Regions from separate parts of the Homo sapiens genome. Here all the other regions are linked to region 2. Evidence: promoter capture Hi-C in 16 types of primary human blood cells and fetal thymus (Javierre and others, 2016). All regions are on one chromosome and are shown on one strand. Each heading gives the region's core, a stretch centred on a gene start or on the middle of the fragment in contact. The rest is flanking DNA. Distances are from core to core; before and after follow the strand shown.

Evidence for each region. The method cuts DNA at HindIII sites, captures the fragments that hold promoters and counts their contacts. A CHiCAGO score of 5 or more calls a contact.
Region 1: a fragment that was not itself captured here is called in contact with the fragment with the promoter of CCNH in region 2 in 2 of 17 cell types (M2 macrophages and endothelial precursors); the score reaches 7.2 in M2 macrophages.
Region 3: a fragment that was not itself captured here is called in contact with the fragment with the promoter of CCNH in region 2 in 1 of 17 cell types (M2 macrophages); the score reaches 13.1 in M2 macrophages.

Annotation. Positions count from the first base shown.
Region 1 is chr5:88,698,669-88,702,954 of GRCh38, reverse strand. The region is part of intron 1 of MEF2C-AS2 (MEF2C antisense RNA 2); the gene reads right to left. Among named protein-coding and RNA genes, the nearest start is that of GSCAR, 3.7 kb to the right of the region's middle. The HindIII fragment of the contact is 1,106 bases long and covers 1,839-2,944 here.
Region 2 is chr5:87,411,387-87,415,776 of GRCh38, reverse strand. CCNH (cyclin H) reads left to right here and starts at 2,847. Exons shown (of 9, transcript NM_001239.4): 1 at 2,847-3,099. The coding sequence starts at 2,983. It overlaps LOC105379066 (a long non-coding RNA gene), which reads right to left and starts at 2,795. Exons shown (of 3, transcript XR_948543.1): 1 at 2,716-2,795. RefSeq lists enhancers at 2,891-3,060, 3,091-3,220. The HindIII fragment of the contact is 6,680 bases long and covers 1-4,086 here.
Region 3 is chr5:88,721,546-88,726,081 of GRCh38, reverse strand. MEF2C (myocyte enhancer factor 2C) reads left to right here. Exons shown (of 11, transcript NM_002397.5): 11 at 3,157-4,536. The coding sequence ends at 3,478. MEF2C-AS2 (MEF2C antisense RNA 2) reads right to left here. Exons shown (of 4, transcript NR_146284.1): 4 at 3,251-3,458. Among named protein-coding and RNA genes, the nearest start is that of GSCAR, 27 kb to the right of the region's middle. The HindIII fragment of the contact is 282 bases long and covers 2,290-2,571 here.

The sequences.
Region 1 (4,286 bases), core at 1,142-3,641, 1.3 Mb before region 2:
CTGAAGTGCAGTGGTGCAGTCATAGCTCACTGTAATCTCAAACTCCTGACTCAAGCAATCTTCCTGCCTCAGCCTCCTGTGTTGTTTCTTACATTTAGATTTTATATTTATATACCTCTTCTAACTGGTTCTTCCCAGTTTTTTCAATTCAGCACGCCAGAATTGATTTTTAAATTGTGATGGCAATGACTTAGGGGTCTGTGAAACACTATGTTCCTGAAATGACATGTTTTTCTGTTGTGTTTATTTTATGTGGACAAAAAAATAATCTTCCAAGAAAAGATAGAGAAGTTATTTTCATCCAGCTTACAATGCAAACCCCTTTGGGCACAGCTAGTGTACGTTCCTCTCCTGCAGTGCCTGAACAGCAGGAGCTCCTTTGCTTCTTTAGAAATGTCAAAAGGAGGAGGAGCAGGTTGGATATGGTAACAGTACTCTCTGTTGACGTACTCCTGAGCTTCATACTTCTGGAAGCTTCACAATGATGTGGAATGTTATCCTGTGTTTTTCTCTGCCTGCGTCTCTGAAGTCTGTGTGTGTGTGTACACACACACGTATGCTGACACAGATAACTGTTTGAATAGGTCTTGAAGTTAAAACCCTTACTTTACAGTGTTGGTGTCACTGATCTTGAAGCTGCTTTTCTTCCTTGTTTAAGAAAATTGTATTTTATGTAAAGACACCATTAGGACAATGTCAGTAGCACTGCAGTTACATTTTCTGGCCAAAATGACAAGACTCAACAATGAGCCAGAATACAGACTTAATGCATTAAAAATATGACAGGTAAGAGCTTGGTGTAACCAGCCTTCAGGTAAAATTTAAAACTGAGGCAGTATTTTTAATGTAGGAAACCAACTGGAGATGTTCGTGCATAATTTGTAACCATGAAATTGGTTCCAGAAAGGGGTCATGAAAAGCATAGCTCTGCTAAGGCTGCAAAGCTTCTTTAGGGAAAAGTCACTCAACCCCTTCACTAAACCACCTTCTCTTCAGAGTCTTTAACAATGAATGCTTGTTGCAGGAGCTTAGTCACAACGTTTGCCCTGAACACTTGTGAAGGATCAGGCACAATACATTCCTCAGCCATGTGAGGATGTTGGGGCTACCTAGGACTTTCTCTTAGAGATACTTACCTAGGCCTGCTCTCCACAGGAAATATCTGTTGTGTTAGGCTGTTCTTGCATTGCTATAAAGAAATACCTGAGACTGGTAATTTATAAAGAAAAGAAGTTTAATTGGCTCAAGGTTCTGCAGGGTGTACAAGAAGCATGGTGCTGGCATCTGCTTGGCTTCTAGGAAGGCCTCAGGAAACTTACAATCATGGGAAAAGGCAAAGGAGGAGCAGTCAAGTCACATGGCAACAGCAGGAGCAAGCAAGAGAGAGTGGGGCTGGTGCAGGAGTGGGAGTGTCACACACTTTTAAGTGACCATATCTTGCTAGAACTCCCTATCATGAAGACAGCACCAAGCCATGAGGGATCCACTCCCATGATCCAAACACCTTCTACCAGGCCCCACCTCCAGCTTTGGGGATTACACTTCAGCATGAAATTTGGCTGGGGACGAATATCCAAACAATATCACCTGTTCTTCAGACCATTCTTACCCAATTTTGGAGATAAAAAAAATTATATATTTGTGTCCATTTTGCTAAGGCTTCATCCTTTTTTGTTCCAGGAAAACTATTCATGTACCACCATCCTCACCATCATCATCACAGTCTTTGCTGACACTAGATGTACTTACTAGATGCCAGGCACTAATTTCAGGTTTTCAGGCATTAACTCATTGAATCCTCATAACAACATTGTGAGATAGGCACAATCAGTAAAGCTTTTTTATGGGTGAGAAAAATTGAGGCATAGGATGAATTAACTTGCCATAGGGTCACCCCATTGGTAAATCAGAGAGCCAGGACTTGAATGAGATGGTTTCATTTACGGGTCTCATTCACAGGTTAAGCGACTCTTCAATGATTTATTAAGTGTCACTTAACCTGTAAATGCTGGAAATTAATGCATTGACTCTTTCTAGGGTGTCCATCCCTCTCCTCACCAGTATAATGAGGTTTATTCTAAAGGTAAAAATTTTAGATATTATATTAGATCAAAGTGGAACTCTTTCAATTTAGTAGAATTATCAGCAATTCTTCAATCAAACTGGATCATTCCCTCAGGAGCCAGACAGGGACACAAGCCACAGGCTGCCATGAACTAGCTAATCTCAAGAACACTTTCTGGGGTTTATTTAAAAATTTACTGTTGGTATGAAATAACTGTTACAAAGAATGATAGTTCCCTTCACGTAGCTGAGTCCTGGAGCCCAAATAACTGTAAGAAAAGATTAGCAGAAAAGTATCCAAGGTGTTCTAAAGGATTTGAAGGGGATATCCATATGACAAATGTACTTATTCAAGGCAACTGTTTAGGCAAAACCTGTGTCAGTTTCAGTCTTTGTGACAAGGCATGGACAACTAGTAAAAGTAGTTAAAGTGTCAAATGTGGTGCACAATGAAAAATCAAAAGGGGGAAAATGTGAGAGTCAATGTTTGGACAATTGACATAAAAAAATATGGGCACAATATGGCAGAAGGTGGGACAAGGTGGCCTCCTGTATAAATGCAATATGCTCAATGAAAGAATGTTTTATATGGGCATGTCAACAGTCAGCCTAATCTGAAAACCCAGCCATCAAGTGCCAGATGAGGAATGCCAAAATGCCAAGAAATATATCAAGAGGTAAAGAGAGCCAATAAAAAAACTTCCATCTTGTGGCAGTTTTATGGAAAGGATTTACATAGAAATCAAGAGCTAATAATGAGAGCATACAAATTACTGTGGAAAATGATGATTAGTGATAATAATTGTTCAAGAAAATGTGTGTCACCTGCCTCTAAATGTTAATTTACTTTAGACTAATGAATAATTCAAGCATCTAAGCTTAGGAAATACCCCACTTCTATCACTATTTCCCTAGTCAGGCCAAAAGGAGAGGACAACAACTGAATAGACCCCAACACCAACCTATTCCTTCCAAGTAATTTCTTCATTGCCTCTGACTGCCTGGTCATGCTGGCTAAGTCCTGAAAATCCCTTTCTTCTTTTTTTTTTTCTTACAACATTTCCTCATATCTTCAGGATTTCCAGGAGAGAAAGTAAGAGCAAAAATGAAGCAGAAGGAAGAAAAAAAGGAGGAAGAGCAAGAGGGGGAGAAGGATCAGGAAGAGGATGAGGAGAAAGGAGAAGGAGGAAAGAAAAAGAAGGGAGGAAGAAAAGAAGGAAAGGGAAAAAAAAAGAGAAAGGAACACACCAAAAGTATCCTCCCTCCAAATGTTAAATGCATTGAAGGAACTTACTTAGTTTTAGAAGTGTCCATGGAGTCTCACCAATTATATCTTACAGAAGACTCCTTTTGTTGCTCAATGTGAAGTTCTCAAAGTTAATGAATAAACAAATTAATCAGTTTCCTAGGCGGTGTGATTTCAGGAACAGCGGCTTTAAAAATAATTTTACCTTCTCCTGTCTGGTTTGGAAAGTCCATAATTAGAGAGTTTCTCATTTGCTTTCTAATTTGATATAAAGTAAATATCTCTAGGACATAGCCAATATAAATCTCTTACACTTTAGTATGAAATTTTATCAGATACTTTTCTACAGTTGATTGAAGAAACAAGGAGAGCCAGATACAAAGGGTGCCTAAAGAAGGAAGGAAATGAAAGCAAATGGAAAAATGACTAGATGCACTGCAGTTTATTTTTCCTGCTTGCAGTTTTACCTAAAAGGATGGTGACTGTCACTGTACCTCTAACTTGTGAGAGAATCATGTTAATTATTTTTGTGTGCACAGCACCAACCATAGAGTGCCATACTATGGATGTTTGCTGAATTAATGAATAAATGAATGCAAGTATTCAGTGATTACTGTAGTCTTGATATTTTGTAAAATCTATGCATAACACAATCCCTTGCTACTAGCAAGTTGTCTTCTAAAAGAAATGGTGTACGTAGCAAGTATTCTTTCCAACTAGCTATTTCTCTGCATTAATTTCTAAACCAGGTTCTGCCTTATCCCAAACCACTTTAGCTTCTGGTTAAGAAATGTATTGTTACTAGAAAACAAAACAGAACTGGTGCTTTTTTTGTATGCATAATATATACAAATGAAGAATGGCTAATGATCGAGATATCCAAAAGATGACCTATATCACAAATAGACATATTTAATCATTTATTCAATATTTACTGAGTATCTGCTGTGTAATGAGTAAGGCAGGCAAAGTCCCT
Region 2 (4,390 bases), core at 1,598-4,097:
CTTTTAATTCCCCTTTTCTTCCTTTTCTCCTAAGATCAGGCAATATGACCTTTTTACTTTTATTTTTCCCTAAACATTAAGATCACTAGGTAGACCGCAAAGAAGGAAGACTGTCCTGAAGCAAGAGAAAGGAAATCCTAATACTCTTATGGGAAATTTTGGAATAGCACGTGGATAAGTACAGGACATTTCTGTGGTGGCCAAACAGATGACACCTGCTTGGCATCACCTAATCTCTGATTGGTAACCCTTAGTTTACAGGTAATGCCTGCAAGTCAAAATATTTGGAATTTGTCTACAAGTACATACCATAGCACAATTTAACAACTGCAGCACAATAAAAGAGATTGTATTTACTTTTAAAAGTCATTGAAATATTTCTTAACATTTCACTTCTGAGTAGTGTCTAATGAAATAGTGATATCTTTGTCAACAAGCTGTGAATTTCCCTATGTCTTCTAGGAAGAATAGGTTCTGTCTGGTTAGTTGGTTTGTTCTTGTTTGAAATATCTTCATTTAGTAGCAGGGACATTGTGATTTAAAACTAATGGAGTTGGGAGGCCCAGGCAGGCGGATCACTTGAGGCCACAAGTTCTAGACCAGCCTGGCCAACATGGTGAAACCCCATCTCTACTAAAAATACAAAAATTAGCTGGGCATGGTGGCATGAGCCTGTAGTCCCAGCTACTCAGGAGGCTGAGGCTGGAGAATGGCTTTAACCCAGGAGGCGGAGGTTGCAGTGAGCGAAGATTGTGCCACTGCACTCCAGTCTGGGTGACAGAGCAAGACTTTGTCTCAAAAAAGAAGAAGAAGAAGAAGAAAAAAACCTAATGGAGGTGTGGGTGGAGGGTAGAAGGGAACTGGCCATGTATTGATAATTTTTGAAATATGTTTCTCTGTATTCTTTATATTTGAAATTCTCCATAAATAAATAAGTAAAAATAATAGAAGTGAAGAGAAACACTTGCTACTTTTTAGTTGAAACTAGAAATGGAAATAGGTAAAGGCACAAGTTCTGCATTCCAGTGTGCCTCCTGTGGTAGCAATAGCAAAGAAACACTGTCGCACAACAGGCTGAGTAGGAGACTGTCACAGCATCCAGTCTGCTTACCTTAGTAAGAAAAACCATACATGAGCCTTAATGTTAGGGCATCAGCAACAATTGTATTCCTCAGACAGTTAATTTAGACAGAGCCCAATTCCTACTACATCTGAAAAATAAGATCAATGTCAATTTTCATGGACTAAAATTTGTTCAAGGTTTAAAAAAAATTACACCAGCAATGCCAGGTTTTTCATATATTTTTCCTAAATGACATTCAGAAATTTTACTCATATCTCTGTGGAAATCACAGTCTGCCAACTCTTTTAAATGCCTATTTTTATTATCCTTTACATAAAACTAAGGAGTTGTCAAATATCTTTCAGAAAAACAAAATGAAAAGAATTTATATGATATATATAACAGTCATGAGGCTAAGACTTTATATAGACATTTAATTATCTAGATCACTTATTTTCCTATCTTTTGTACCATTATGTTTTTCTCTTTTAAATTATTCTTTCCCCAACATGCAACATTTTAGGTTGTTCACAATTCATTGTAATCAATTTGCCATGCCCTTTGATCTTCTCTTTTTCTCTCTTTTCTTAGCCAATTTATGAGACCAGGTTAGCCACATATGTTGAGTGTGTGGCTCTCCAAAATTATATACCACAAATGGCATAAGTTTGAGGAATTCAGATAACTGTGGCAAACTCTAACCTCAGCTGTACCCAACAAAAATGAAAAAGAAAAGGCTTTCCCTTTCTTAAGCCCCTAAAAACATTTTAATAGAAAGCAGAGTTAAAGTCATCCTGCCACTTCTTCTTTTTACCTGTGTGGGCTTTTCAAGACCTAAATTCTCTAGGTCTCATCATCTTTCTCTTTCTTTTTATTTATTTATTTATTTTTTAGAAAAGCTATTTGCCATAGGGAAATCCATTTTTCGGATTGGATATATAATAAATACATGAGAGAATAAGGTATGCCTAAATGGGACAAACCAGAATCCATGTAAATTTTGAACCTCACCTGCAATTTTGAAAGTCCTATTAATTTAAAAAATAGTAAATACCTTAATTTTCATGATAGCTTACTGTAAGGCTCCCTAGAGGCAATGAAAATGGGAATCTCAATAAAACGAATACTACCATACATCCTGGCTTCAGAGATGAAAACAGAGGGAGAGGATTGGCTAGTTATCAACAGAAGGGTAAGGAAAAAAAGCACAGAGAAAGAACAGACAAGGCAACAAAAGTGGCAGAACTGTAAGGGCCAATACGCATCCACTGCTTCAAGTTTTTCAGCCATGTTCCATTCTCCGAGATTTCTGGTAGTGCTTCAAGAATACTGGTCTCCAAACTCTTCCTGAAAAGGGCTAGGAATGCTTCTGCCTGAAGATCTTACCTATTCTTTCTGGGCCCCGTGATCTCCCTACATGATTGATCAACCTACTATTTCAACTCTTTCAAGCCTTTTCACAAATGTCAACTTCAGTGAGGCCTCTATTTAAAAATGAGCACCCTACGAAATCCTTTCCTCATTTCTGATTATCCCCTGTGAATTTACATCTGCCTACTCCGTACCCTCAGTTTATGCCCCTTGAACACTCTTGCCGGGCGCTTCTCCTTTAAATCTTGCCTGGAAGGGGCGGAGCTATGTCCCAGACTCACCGAGAGGAGCGTTCTCTAGGCTCCGCCCACTTACGTCTCAGTGGGCGCCCTAACGAACCCGGGATACGGTCTGTTCCTAGTCCGCTCCGGAAATGCAACTGCGTACGGGCTGGCCGCGTAATCGTGACGACAGCGCGCCAGCGCCGGCTAGCCGGACGCCCTAGGCTTCCGCGAGATCTTCGGTGGGGGTACGGGTGTTTTACGCCAGGACGCTGATGCGTTTGGGTTCTCGTCTGCAGACCCTCTGGACCTGGTCACGATTCCATAATGTACCACAACAGTAGTCAGAAGCGGCACTGGACCTTCTCCAGCGAGGAGCAGCTGGCAAGACTGCGGGCTGACGCCAACCGCAAATTCAGATGCAAAGCCGTGGCCAACGGGAAGGTGAGGTTTTCCCAACGGTTGCCCAGTTGCCCGGTCACTAAATTCTGAGCAGCTGCGGGAGCTCTTCTGGCTCCCAGGACAATCTCGCTCCGTCGTTTCTCTGCCTCTGCGGCGCGGAGTGCGTTTTTCTATCAAAATAAGCGAGCACCTTGCCAGGTTCCGTGGGTACAAAGACGAACAACGCCATCCCCGTCGTCGAATGGCAGACAAGTAACCAGTCTTTGTAACGTAGTGAAGAAGAGAGTAAGTAGTGTGCTAAGGTAGTGCGTGGCAAGAGCCGTTCACTTGTCAAGAGATGATGTTGGGGAAGGTTTTTCCCAGTAGCCAATGCGGAGAAAATGGGAAAGGAAGTTCCAGGCAGTCAGAACCACCGTTCAGAGTGGGAGGGAGGTCAGAAGTTACAGAGATGGTGCGTGGACGTGTTTGTGGTCGTATGTGGCCGAAGTTGAGTACCTGTGCAGGAATGGCTGGGGAGGGTAGGAAGGGAACTTGTAAGTGGAAGTGAGGCGTTTAACATTTCCACTGAAAGGATGAGGAACCTTTGAAATATTTAAAATGGGAAGCTAACCTTATCAGATTTCCGTTCTGGAAACAGCGCTCTAGCAACCTCGTGGTGAATGGGTTGGATGAGGGAGGGAGACCAGAGACCAAGTACAAACCAAGTGACTGAAGATGGTTTGGACTATGGCCCGCTAGCCAAGTTCCTTCTGTTACAGCTCTCGGACTGGTTTAATCTTTCCTGCAAGCTCCACTCCAGCAAGTGTTCAGTGCCTCCAAATTACCGATACTGAGTTACTTTACTTTCTACCTTTAATTCACATCTATTTCATATCACTGATTTTAGCACCTGAATTAGTTTCCTAAGGGCTGCCTTAAAAAAATCACCACAAACTGGGTAGCTTAAAATAACAGAAATTTATTGAAACATTTGCTGTTTTTTTACAACTTGTGACGTAATGACTGACCGAGAAACGGATGTTGGAAGCTTTCCAATCATATTTTAAAAAGTCTGTCTACTTTTTAATTTATAAATAATGATATCACAACTGTGAGCATGTGCACACAGCCTGTCATGATTGTTTATACTTTAATGAAGCAAAGGTCTAGCTGACATTCCGAAAAGTCGTGAAATGATGGTACAGTTTTAGTTTATTAAATATTTTCCTACAGCTATTTTGTGTAATGATTAGCGAATCTATAAAGAAAATGAGGCGTGATATATACCCTTCGTTGGATATATAAACTAAATTTAATCTAGATAGAGAAAAATGTTTTACAATTGTTTAATTCA
Region 3 (4,536 bases), core at 1,181-3,680, 1.3 Mb before region 2:
AAGCTATACTTTTAAAACCTAGTATCTGATTTTATCTAACCAAGCTAAGTAAGCAACACAAATTTATTTGCTATAGGGAGAGAGATGGCTGACAGAGGAACTTGCCATCAAGAGTTAATGAAAGTCCTTTGAATACTAATATTTGATTTAGTGTAACACTAAGTTTTAGTGTTTTTCTAAACCACCACCTATAAAAAGGGCAGCCTGTTTTCTGGAAGCATTTCCATACGTCAACTTTGTTGATGTGGGTGTTCAGTACATACTGAGAGAGATAACTCTGAGTAGAGATGACTTATAAAAGGTTAGGTTAAATATAGTTTGATAGTCTAATTTCCAGGCGGAGGCAGTAAAAATTTTGAATAAAACTATCCAGTCATGTTTGATTTCTGAACAATTATGGGAAAGGGTAGGAGTTTTCCCAATTCAAAAGCATCTGTAATAGATGAAAATTTGCATAGAGGACTTGATATGGGTAACTTGCATATCTGGCTTCTATCTCCCCACCCACCTCTTTATCACCCACCCACACATATGCAGTATTTCACAATTATCAGGGTCTATAATTATTCGTGTCTATATTTTGTTCTCAAGTAGACCAACATGCTTATATCTGAACCTAGCATATATGCAGTTAAGTTATTTTAATGCTACTTTTTTCTTTTCAAGAAAATACTTCTTTGTTAACAGAGACTAGCCATTCTATTTTATATCCTATGTCACAGTATAATGAAGCTGAATCTAAGATATCACTTGCATTTTACTACTGTGGATTTAGTCCCCAGAACTACTCAAAATGCTTCATGTATGTTTTCAGTGTCAAATGAAATTCCACCAAAAGATAAATTTAAGCTAGTCTGTTTGTAGGAAGGGATAACCAATAATTGTTACATCTTTCATGGGGAAGATACACAGCTAAACCTATACAGGCCAGTTAACATAGGAAGATGATGCAAAGAGGTGAATAATGCAGCTTCCAAAAACTGTATTAAAGAAACAGAATTTTGGTTATATTATTTTTCCCTTACCTTGTCTAGATTAACTGCTTAGACTGTCCAACTCACCAATTTTTTCTTCTAATTTTCTATGTCACCCTCCCTGTGAAGACATAATCTGTATGTCAAAGAGCAAGCAAAAGTATTTATTGACATATCACTTTTTATTTTCAGACTCCTAATTCATATTCATTATTAAATAGTTGTGTGATTCATAGCAGAAGCATTTAATTAAATTTTAGTGAAATGGTCTTTCTTAGAGCCAGGAAAATTCTTTATTCCAGAAATCAAAAGACGATTTCCTCAAACATCAGAATGAATCACTAAGTAACTTTGAACCAAGATAAAATAGTCTACCATTATGAATCCTTTTGAAATACAGGTGTTCCCTCTCCCCATTTTAACAAGGCTTATTTAATTAAAACTTTTGGAAAATTAGTAAACTGATAGACTATAAATTAATAAGCTACAAATAAATAGCTCCAAATATAAACAGGTGTTTGAAAATTATATACAGTCAGTGTAGTTTCTTGATATAAATGCTAACACTGCTTTGATTATATAAGATCATAAAAGCTAGAGAAAGAGACGCTTATTAAGGAAACAAATAATTCTCCTTTATATTATTCTCTACATTAGCTCATCTATTTATTAATAGGAGAAGGAAAGTAATTCTTTGCCAGTAGGTGGTGCTTTTGTACAAAACATCACTCAAAGATAAACTCGTTTCTGACTAATTTTATATCACTATACATCTTGAGTTTGTATTGCATCTCCCAAAAAGCCAGCCCCAAGTTACTTCACTTTTTTTCTGAAATATATACTTTTTCTCTCAGTGGTCATAATGACATTGTTAGTGCCAACTAATTCTCTCCACTGGAAAGCAGCATAATTACATACATTAGTAAGTAGGCTTGCTTTCCTTTGTTTAAAATGGGTGTGTCTGTATGGATAATTCTTCACTTGGATTCTTCCTCAGTAAAAGAGAGTACCATGCTCTTTTGACAATATAGTCAAGTAATCCTGACTCTAGCTCTGGAAGTCAGTGTAATTAGTGTAAGAAGAGTAAAAGCATCTTAAAATTGATGCGAGCAATGCCACTATGGTTTATCCTGATCAAAGTCATTGTGATTGCTAATCTACACTTAAGGGCTTAATACTTTTTTCCTCTAGAATTCCAAGTTTCTAAATTTTCCCAGATTTTGGAAAAAGGAAAAATTATTCTCTCTGGGAATATATGAGGATTAAGGATTATAAACACAGTAAAATCACACTACATCCTTCTTGGCAACAAGCTTTCCTTAGGCAACACCAGATTCATCAACTAATGCCAATGATAAATAAGAGGAGTGGTAGCCTAAGAACCGCACGCATCAGGGAGTGACTAACATTAATAAAATTGAGGTCATTGTGGAACACAAAGTATTTTCATCTCATGTAACTGCAAAAGGATGAAGAAAGTCAAATTATCAGTTTTAATGGAGTAGAAAGTCTTAAGTGTTTGAAAACCAACGTTTAAACTTTCTGCAGATAATTTTCAATTTCCCTCCCCCTTTCCATTTTTTCCACCTCCAAAGCTTTTTACCAGATACAGTTATTGTGCAGCATTTGAGTTCTAGTCATTTAAAATTTAACTCCCTTCACTTTCTCTGAAGACTATGTGATTCCATCTGTATGTGCTTATTAATTGGAGGCAAATATTTATATTGATAATAAGCTTTTAAAAATAATATTCAAACACAAGCATTAGTAAATCAAGGAAGTCTAATTCCAGAGCTAAACACTGTATCTAAATGCTTAGAAATTTAATTTTTAGAACTAGTCTAGGGATAGAGTCCATGAACACAGAAAATGCTTTTTCCATTGTGTCTTAAACCTTTCTGAAATGGTAACCTATATGTTTAGGGAGCCTCTCGGAGACTAGAGATATAATTCATGAGGCCTGGACCAGTTAAATGCTGTAATTACTACCGGGCAAATCAACAAAGGCATCCTAAATCGCCCTGAGAAGGCGATGCCCTTATGTGCTTCCAAGCACGTTTTCTTCACTCTGGGCATGCTCTGGTGTCTATGCGAGTCTTTAAGCTGATGTTTGATTTAATTGTGAGTTCCTGGGGCCTCCAGGCCTCCTTCATCTGTAACTGGGTTTCCTTTCCTCCTACAGAGCTTGCACTAGCACTCATTTATCTCAGAGTTCAAATCTCTCCCTGCCTTCTACTCAAAGCCTCAACATCAAGTCAGAACCTGTTTCTCCTCCTAGAGACCGTACCACCACCCCTTCGAGATACCCACAACACACGCGCCACGAGGCGGGGAGATCTCCTGTTGACAGCTTGAGCAGCTGTAGCAGTTCGTACGACGGGAGCGACCGAGAGGATCACCGGAACGAATTCCACTCCCCCATTGGACTCACCAGACCTTCGCCGGACGAAAGGGAAAGTCCCTCAGTCAAGCGCATGCGACTTTCTGAAGGATGGGCAACATGATCAGATTATTACTTACTAGTTTTTTTTTTTTTCTTGCAGTGTGTGTGTGTGCTATACCTTAATGGGGAAGGGGGGTCGATATGCATTATATGTGCCGTGTGTGGAAAAAAAAAAAGTCAGGTACTCTGTTTTGTAAAAGTACTTTTAAATTGCCTCAGTGATACAGTATAAAGATAAACAGAAATGCTGAGATAAGCTTAGCACTTGAGTTGTACAACAGAACACTTGTACAAAATAGATTTTAAGGCTAACTTCTTTTCACTGTTGTGCTCCTTTGCAAAATGTATGTTACAATAGATAGTGTCATGTTGCAGGTTCAACGTTATTTACATGTAAATAGACAAAAGGAAACATTTGCCAAAAGCGGCAGATCTTTACTGAAAGAGAGAGCAGCTGTTATGCAACATATAGAAAAATGTATAGATGCTTGGACAGACCCGGTAATGGGTGGCCATTGGTAAATGTTAGGAACACACCAGGTCACCTGACATCCCAAGAATGCTCACAAACCTGCAGGCATATCATTGGCGTATGGCACTCATTAAAAAGGATCAGAGACCATTAAAAGAGGACCATACCTATTAAAAAAAAATGTGGAGTTGGAGGGCTAACATATTTAATTAAATAAATAAATAAATCTGGGTCTGCATCTCTTATTAAATAAAAATATAAAAATATGTACATTACATTTTGCTTATTTTCATATAAAAGGTAAGACAGAGTTTGCAAAGCATTTGTGGCTTTTTGTAGTTTACTTAAGCCAAAATGTGTTTTTTTCCCCTTGATAGCTTCGCTAATATTTTAAACAGTCCTGTAAAAAACCAAAAAGGACTTTTTGTATAGAAAGCACTACCCTAAGCCATGAAGAACTCCATGCTTTGCTAACCAAGATAACTGTTTTCTCTTTGTAGAAGTTTTGTTTTTGAAATGTGTATTTCTAATTATATAAAATATTAAGAATCTTTTAAAAAAATCTGTGAAATTAACATGCTTGTGTATAGCTTTCTAATATATATAATATTATGGTAATAGCAGAAGTTTTGTTATCTTAATAGCGG